Regions from separate parts of the Homo sapiens genome. Here region 1 is linked to region 2. Evidence: promoter capture Hi-C in human tissues and cell types (Jung and others, 2019). All regions are on one chromosome and are shown on one strand. Each heading gives the region's core, a stretch centred on a gene start or on the middle of the fragment in contact. The rest is flanking DNA. Distances are from core to core; before and after follow the strand shown.

Region 1 (4,151 bases), core at 367-2,866, 530 kb after region 2:
ATTAGCTCAGTTTTTATCTGACCACAAAGACTGCGCCACCAACAAATGTACCATTGTGAAGTCATGCCTTAGGAGGAGCTGTTCTGAGGTGACAGAGAAGGCGAGGGAGACGTGTGAGGTAGAAAAATTATGGTTCTAACACAAACTGGGAAAGCTCTTAGAATTTAGTTCTTGACATTGCACTTCCTAGGTGAAATTGCTGAAAAACCTACCCACCATTTTGCTTAAAATTATTCTGGACTTTTCTTTCTTACTTACTTGCTCTTACAGTTACTGTGGTTCCGGCTCCAAAGCTGAGCTTGTAGTCGTTAGAACCACAGTGCGAGGTCGCCCTACACAAACCTCACCAAGACCATGGTTAAGAGAGTGGGCTAGGGGACAGGCAGGCCAGGCTCTTAATCTAGCTCTGCCCCTCATCTGCGGTGAGCCCTTGGGTAACTATTTCAACCTCTTTGCTTTAGTTTTACCTTTCACACTGTTTCCTCATCTGTGGAAGCGGAGATAGGTAATATCTATCCCAGAGGGTTGTTAGGAGGGTCAGATGAGTCAAGGTATGAAAGGTGCTTTGCATATTGCGAATGTTGAAGAAATGTTAGTTATTAGAGTATTTTCAAGAGGATCTAATTCTTTTCATCTTTAAATAATACATATAATTTTAATTTGTCATGTCTCCTCTCTGAAATCCTGGACATTCAGGGGTGCTTTAAATTATATCCAAATGCTCTTTTGTTCAGTAGCAACAGTTAAAATTTGGGCATTTTCCTTATAAAGAATAGCACCTTGAGAACATTGGCAGTTTCAGCATGTCTACTCGATCATGAGATTTGTTTACTACATATCTGTTCAAGTGACATATGAATAAGGACTAATAAAATATCATGGGTGGGGACCCAAAATGCAAAATAAAAGAACTGAAATACAGACTGAAAAGAAGAATTTAGCATAATGTGTTGGTAACTTTTTCTTCTAGGCAACTATAACTTACTTGGTTTTACATTGAGTTTGGTCCCAGATCCAAAGTAAAATTTGTTGAAGTTGTACACCATGTTTATTGGCATTACAAAAAATCCCCTGGCACTTCCTAAAAAGGAGACTTGTTATCCAGAGATGACTAACCAAATTAGACCAAGACTAACCCAACCCTACCAGTTCTTTGCTAATTCCCTGGAAAATTTGAGAACCAAAGTGAGGAATGAGCAGGGAAGGCACATTCATTATCAGAGACAGGCAAGATAAGGGCAACTGGTTTTCTTCAGTGGTTTTATTGATTTCTTTTCTTTAGTTTTCTGCTTGGGTTCATTCTTGTGTCCTCTGTGCTCAATGCACACAATATTTGAAACAGGACACTGCAAGTAAATGTTCTTTACCTTTCTCTTTTCCTAATTATAAATGAAAATTCCCCTCAGGTAGACTTAACTAAGGGGAAAATTCATATTCTGCATTTAGCTCCAGGGTGATCTGGAAGCTTCTCTCTGAGACTCTGTATCTGAATCTGGGTTGCACTTGACAACTAGACCTGAGCTTTTCTTAAGGACACCCCGAGCAACGCCAGCTGACCAGTGGTGCTCTGTATGTATGATCTAATAAGATCACTATAGCCTCTCTGTGACAGTACCTACATTATACAACCATGTATATTTTAGCATCCACATTGACACTCTCCTCCCAGACCCCACAGTCAAACTGTACATTTTGGCTTTTTTTTTTTTTTTGCTTCCTGCTTGCATATTCCCTTCAGAAAAAAAGAAACAAAGCAAAAGAAAAAAAAAGAGCCTGCAGTGTTAGTTGTCATTTGCAAGTCTAGATGAAACATTATTTATGGGTAAAATATTTTGCTGGCAATTTCAAGAGAAAAGAAACCTTAGTGCCAACAGTTAGACGCCCACACAGTTTGGAGTTAAACAGATCTCAACAAATGAACACAGTTATGAGAAGTAACACAGAAGTGACTTCAATCTAAGCCAAGTAATTATAATACTCATGCAATTTTGGAGGGCCAGGGGCTTACTTGTTCTCACTTGTAGAAATGATAAGCAATGTGTTACAGCAATGCTTTGCTGGAAGGGCACCAGAGAGCTATAGAAATAGAGCCTCATTTAAATATCTTAAATATAGGCACCTCTATGTTTAAAGACTTATTTAGAAATAGCTACTAGAATAGGCTAAAAATGTAAGTGACCAACTAGACTTGGTGTGAGACAGTTTTTGTAGCACGTAGGCTGGTCCTAGTGCAAATATTTTCAGAAGCAGAGGTTCCCCTTATGGAATCTGTTCCCATTATTCAGCAATTCTTCTAAGTTAAAATGAAATTTTTTTCTATTCATTTTCATTAACTCCTATTACTAAAAGCCTTAGCAAAAAGCTTCTCTTTCTCTTCTTGGTCTCTGATAAATAATTCTCTGCTCGCATTACCCTTTCTAGTATGCATTGTTGCTGTCTCTCCCCATCTTCAACCTCAGGCCCATTAAGTTACATGTACAGAATACATTTGTAGATTAGTAAATCAGTGCAAATAGTATTTAATTGAGGCAGCCTACCAGGTAAAACAGTCAATTGTGTCCCAGATCCAAAGGTCAGTTGCCTTGCAGAACCAGAAGAAACACTATGATTTGCTCAACAACAAAAACCAGATCAAACAGGCCAGGTTGGCAAAGCACTGAATAAAGAGCTGGCAGTGCTTCCTTTATGAATTAGGCCTGCATCACTGTTAATCTAGGTTTGGTCTGGAGTAGCCAAACTGACTTTCTACAAATCCTAAACTAACCCTCCTTCGTCTTTACAATCCCATTTTCTTTTAGGGGACCTTTGCTTTCCACTTTCCACTACAAAGTTCTAAACATTAACTGTGTATTTTCGATATATGTATAGAGCAAATACTCTCTGATTTTAGGTGTCAAAACAGCACTTGAATCTTTTCATCCAAGGAGACTCACAAAGTCCAGAATAGAGAATACGCCTCCTCTGTTGTGGGCATCACTGGATTATGTCATCAGAGAACTGTCTGAATTCTTGAATCCTCCTGAGACTGAGTCTATAGAATCAAAGTGAGGTAGGTACAGAGCTGGCATTGTCCAGTTAATTTGGCCACTCATTTCACACTGATAAAATAACTTTATAATAATCAATTATCAGACAAATTCCTAGTTTTCTACTTCACTTTTGGGCATTTCCCTTCTCCTGACTAAAGTGGTATGTGTGTTAGTTATCTGCTCAAGGACTTTAAACTGCAGCAAAAATTAGTTTTAGTATTTCCTAAGGAAGTGATGATAGTATAAGAGAGCCATGCCCAAGAGAAATCAGGGTAAGCATTGTCATATCTGGGAAGAAACATGGAATCCACCTCCAGAATGTAAGTTTCATGAAGGCAATATCACACTGAGTTTGCTTCCTGTTGGATCCCTGGTTTCAGCAACGAGCCTGGCAGAGGGCAAGTACATGAAAATATTTGTCAGATGAATCTTGCGGACTCTTCAAACTTCAAGTTTGAGCCAACTGACAGGTTTGGCAAATTAGAGACCTAAAATCTAGTTCTAGCTCAGCCATAGACTGGCTGTGGGGCCGGGATCTGTCTCTTCCCTGAGCCTCAGTTTTCTCATCCATGGAGAAAGTCAAAAAGGAATGTTGTCAAGGTTCTCTCTGCTCCGTGAGGCTACGCTGTACGAATTTTTGGCTGAAAGTCTCAGAAACAGGAAGTGTCCCTCAGTAGTCATGAGTAAACTTTTTAAAAAAAAGTGGTTTTTCAGACTTTGAGAGAGACTAATCACATTACTTTTGGTTAATGATCATTATTTACAAGGTTCTTTCCTTCTATAAATTGACATAATCTTAGCCAAATAGAATAGTGCCTTAGAAGGTTTGTTAAGGAATTAGAAATCTTGTCACCAATTACTGCACAAATCCAGGGATATGATCCCAGCCAATACAACAAGTAGCCAGTCATACATTTTAGTCCCAACACATATATTCAGGAGCAATTCCCAGAGGCACACTTACATAGCCCATTTTGCACTGAGATGCTAGATCCTAGCCAGGACGACGATTGGCTTCCTATTTGATGCTCATCCCCCTCTCTAAACATTCTTCATATGGTGTATAATTGGGTCTAAATCAGCCCTTAATCCACAGACATTGCTTAATCCAGGGATACAATT
Region 2 (4,086 bases), core at 531-3,030:
AGAGAGAAAGGGAGCGGGACAGGGGGGACCGAGATCGGGATAGGGAAAGGGACCGAGAACGAGGCAGGGAAAGGGATCGCAGGGACACCAAGCGCCACAGCAGAAGCCGGAGTCGGAGCACACCTGTGCGGGACCGGGGTGGGCGCCGCTAGCTGGGAAAACACTAGAGCTGCAGGTACCAGCCACTCGGCCCCAGGGGGTTATGGCCACAGAGGGATAGGCACAGTCTCCACCACCCTGGAGCCAAGGGTCTTTCACATCACCTATCCCTACATACATACCAAATGGAAAAGTGGCCATCCTTTTCCCCCCAAACACACCCCCTTAACCTATCTCTTGGGACTTAGCCCGACCCTCCCTCTCATTTCCCATTAAGTCTGAGAGGCAAGAGCTAGGTTAGGCAAGGAGGTGGTTGGCCAGAGATGGGGAACAGCCAGGTGCCCCAGTCCTCTGATTTTTCCTCCATCCTGCTTACCACCTCCCTGGGTACTTACAGCCTTCTCTTGGGAACAGCCGGGGCCAGGACTGGGTCACCTATGAGCTGAATCAGCATCTCCTCCTGAGTCCCAGGGCCCCTGCAGTTCCCAGTCTCTTCTGTCCTGCAGCCCTTGCCTCTTTCCCACAGGTTCCACTTTATATCCACCTTTTCCTTTTGTTCAATTTTTATTTTTATTTTTTTTATTATTAAATGATGTGGTCTATGGAAAAAAAAATAAAAATCTGACTTAGTTTTAAACTGTGTGAGTGGCTTTCTTTGGGCAGGTTAAGAAGCCACTGTGGATATCTGAGCGTGGACATCTGAGGATATCTGGAGTAGGAGTTGCTCTCATTCCATGTGTTCCTTTAGGCTGACTGCTTCCTGCTTATTGAACTTCCCACGTCTTTTATCCCCTGCCTTGGCCCTGACCAACCCAAAGCTGTGGACCTTCCTCATTCGGGAAGGCATGGAGCAACCTGTGTCCGTGGCGGCACCCCAGCAGGGCTAGGAGGGTGGGTCCTCTTCTGGTTCCTGGTCCTGTGCACGGTTAAATTAGGGGTTTGGTCACCTGCCTGCCACCTTGGTGCCTCCCACAACTACCACCAGGGGGCGGCAGCTCCTCGCTCTGTTGGCCCCTGTAACCGAGCTTCCCAAGAAGGGTTCCACTGCCCGCCTCCGACCTCCCGCCGATGTCGTGCCTCTGTTCCCGACCCGCTCCCTGGGCCCGGGCCTCGGACTCTCTGGACCCTTCTGCCGTCCTTAAGTGTCCCCCAGCTGACCTGCTACCGTGCTTTGCATGGGCTCTCAAAACGCCGCCGCCTTGCAGCTGGGATTCCATCCACACCAGTCCCAAAAGCCAGCCGGGAACCGGGAGCCCGGAGCCGGGTCTCTCCGCAGTGGGCTCCGAATTCCCCACCTCACCGCGCGCTCGCCCGTTTTCCGCTGCGGGCGGGGACTGGCAGCTTCGCGCTCCCGGGTGCACCCGCCCCGCCAGCTCTTCGGAAATGGCCTGGCGCCGTGGCCTGGACGTCCTCCCGCCCGAGTGCCCTGCCGGGCGCTGCGGGCCCGGTCCGGGAGGGGCGCCGCATCTGTATGCGCCCCGCAGCCCAGGAGCGCCGAGGGGGCGGACGCGCGGCGCCGCCTCCGCCCCCGCCCCCGCCGCGCGGGCCCGGCTGGCCGGGGAGGGTCGGAGGCTGGGCTCTCCTCTCCCGCGCGGCGCGGAGCCGCCTCGCTCCTCCGCAGGCGGAGTCTTCTTCCCCCGCCCCCTCCGTCTCGCTCCCTTGTTCTCGCCGGGGCCGCTCAGACCTGCAGCGGAGCCGCGGCGCCCGCTCCAATCGGCTCGGGGCTGTGCCCCCGGGACCCGGCGACGGGGGCGGGCGGGGGCGCTTCCCGCCGGCCTGGGCCCCTCGGCAGTGCCAGGTAAGGGCGCCTGCCCCGGAGCAGGGGTCGGGAATCCGCGGAGGGGTAGGAGGGGGCCCGCAGCCTGCGGGGGTCTTCGGAGGGGTGCGCTCCGTGGCTGGGAGCCCGCTGCCGGCTCCCTTCTCCCGCGCTCTGCCTCTTTCCCTTCTCCCCTCGCACCTCTCTCCCTCTTTCTTCTCTCGATTTCTCTTCACCCTTCCTTCTCTGCCTGTTTGCCTTCCTTATCCCTTCCCTCTGTCTCCCCAACCCTTCCCTCTCCCTCTTGTCCTTTTTCCATCTCCTCTCCCTCTTTGCCTTTTTCTTTCTCTACCTTTCTCCCCTTTCCTGCCTTTCTCTTTTCTCTTTCTTGCTCTCCTTTCCCTCCCTCTCCTCTCCCCTTCCTGCTATCCTGTTTCCCACTCCTCTATCCCCTTCCTTCTCGCCTCCTCATCCCGCCTTCTCTCTGGTCCCCAGCCTTCCTCCGGTTTCCCCCTTCCCTCGGGAGCAAAGGGACTGTCAGGTGTGTGTCTGCTCTGAGGGAGGAGGGGCAGAAGCCACAGCTACCTGAGGGGTCCTCCCCCCCGCCCCTAGGAGAAAGGAGAGCAGTGGGAAGGGTCTCCTCTCTAGCTCCCTTCCCGTGGCCCCTCCCTGCCTCCACCCCTCCTGTCTGCTCCTTCTCCCAGAATTAAGTTCCCGAGGCCTGGCTTGACACCCCCGAAGCTGAGGTCTGCCCCTGCCTGCCCGGAACTGCCCCCGGTGACCCGTTTCCAAGCCTGGCCCCTAGGACTCCTCTCTGCCTTCAGACACCCAGGCTGCTGCCCTGGTCTCTCTCATTCTGTCTCTTGCCACTGTTCTGTTTCTGTCTCTCATCCAGTCATTTCTCTGCCGGACAGTCCCTGAGTCAGTCTAGCCGTCAGTCATTATCTGTCTCTAGCCTCTGGGTGGACCTCTCTCCCCGGTCACCTCCCCCTGTCCCCCACCCTGTATCCTCTTCCTTCAGCTCTGGCTCCCAACTCCTGTCTCACGAGCCCAGTCCCCCTTCAAGGACTGCACTGGCAGCGTGGGCTGGAGACAGGGCCTGGAGAGTGGGGCTCCCCCTTGTGGGGAGGGACTTTCACAGACTCTCAGCCCTGCCTGAGGCTGCACTCCTTGTCATCTCATGCTGACCCTAGACACCTTAAGGCCACACCTCCATGAATCCCAACTCCGTAATTTTAAGCCCTTTCTCTGGTAGCCCCGCCTCCTCCAATACCTGGCTACGTGCCCAACCTGGGAGGACAGAGACCAGATTTGGGATTCCAAGCCCTCCCAGCATCCCCTCTCCTGTGTTCCTCCCCAGTTCTCTACTCAGAGTTGACTGACCAGAGATTTATCAGCTTGGAGGGCTGGAGGTGAATACATGCAGAGCCTGGGTGGAGGAAGGATCAGCCTCTCTGCTCTCTGTCTTAGTCTGAGTTCTGGGCAGTGGAGTGTCTGGTTCCTTGGAGGTCTGGTCTTCAGCATCTAATTTTGCGGGGGAGGAGGGCTAGGGGTTTCCTTGAGCCTGAGCAGCTGCTTGTCCTGCAGGTGTGGATCCATGGGGTAGCCTCAACGCATCTGCCCCTCCACCCCAGCCAGCTCATGGGCCACGTGGCCTGGCCCAGCCTCAGCACCCAGGGCCAGTGAACAGAGCCCTGGCTGGAGTCCAAACATGTGGGGCCTGGTGAGGCTCCTGCTGGCCTGGCTGGGTGGCTGGGGCTGCATGGGGCGTCTGGCAGCCCCAGCCCGGGCCTGGGCAGGGTCCCGGGAACACCCAGGGCCTGCTCTGCTGCGGACTCGAAGGAGCTGGGTCTGGAACCAGTTCTTTGTCATTGAGGAATATGCTGGTCCAGAGCCTGTTCTCATTGGCAAGGTAAGGATGACCCCTCCCATGTCTACTCTGACACCAAGCCCTCAGGCCCTGCCCTGCAACTTCATCACTTCTGCAATGACCTTGGTCCCTCAGGACTCCCAACGCTCTACCCAAACCTAGACTCTTTAACCCTGTCTCTGTACTTGGAGCCCTCTGCCATCTTTTCGTGACCCCTGCAGCTGCACTCGGATGTTGACCGGGGAGAGGGCCGCACCAAGTACCTGTTGACCGGGGAGGGGGCAGGCACCGTATTTGTGATTGATGAGGCCACAGGCAATATTCATGTTACCAAGAGCCTTGACCGGGAGGAAAAGGCGCA

The links. Contacts are between HindIII fragments. The study calls those that stand out against the background at their distance.
Region 1: a contact is called between a fragment that was not itself captured here and the fragment with the promoter of CDH24 in region 2, in 1 of the 25 tissues and cell types used here (aorta).

The regions. Positions count from the first base shown.
Region 1 is chr14:22,520,489-22,524,639 of GRCh38, reverse strand. It overlaps TRA, TRAJ22, TRAJ21 and TRAJ20. Among named protein-coding and RNA genes, the nearest start is that of LINC02332, 34 kb to the left of the region's middle. The HindIII fragment of the contact is 5,765 bases long and covers 1-4,151 here.
Region 2 is chr14:23,055,214-23,059,299 of GRCh38, reverse strand. It overlaps CDH24 (cadherin 24), which reads left to right and starts at 1,780. Exons shown (of 13, transcript NM_144985.4): 1 at 1,780-1,897; 2 at 3,443-3,767; 3 at 3,947-4,086. The coding sequence starts at 3,567. ACIN1 (apoptotic chromatin condensation inducer 1) reads left to right here. Exons shown (of 19, transcript NM_001386863.1): 19 at 1-736. The coding sequence ends at 152. It overlaps LOC105370705 (collagen alpha-2(I) chain-like), which reads right to left and starts at 1,640. Exons shown (of 2, transcript NR_169511.1): 1 at 1,258-1,640; 2 at 651-1,015. RefSeq lists silencers at 1,551-1,700, 1,781-1,900. The HindIII fragment of the contact is 20,564 bases long and covers 1-4,086 here.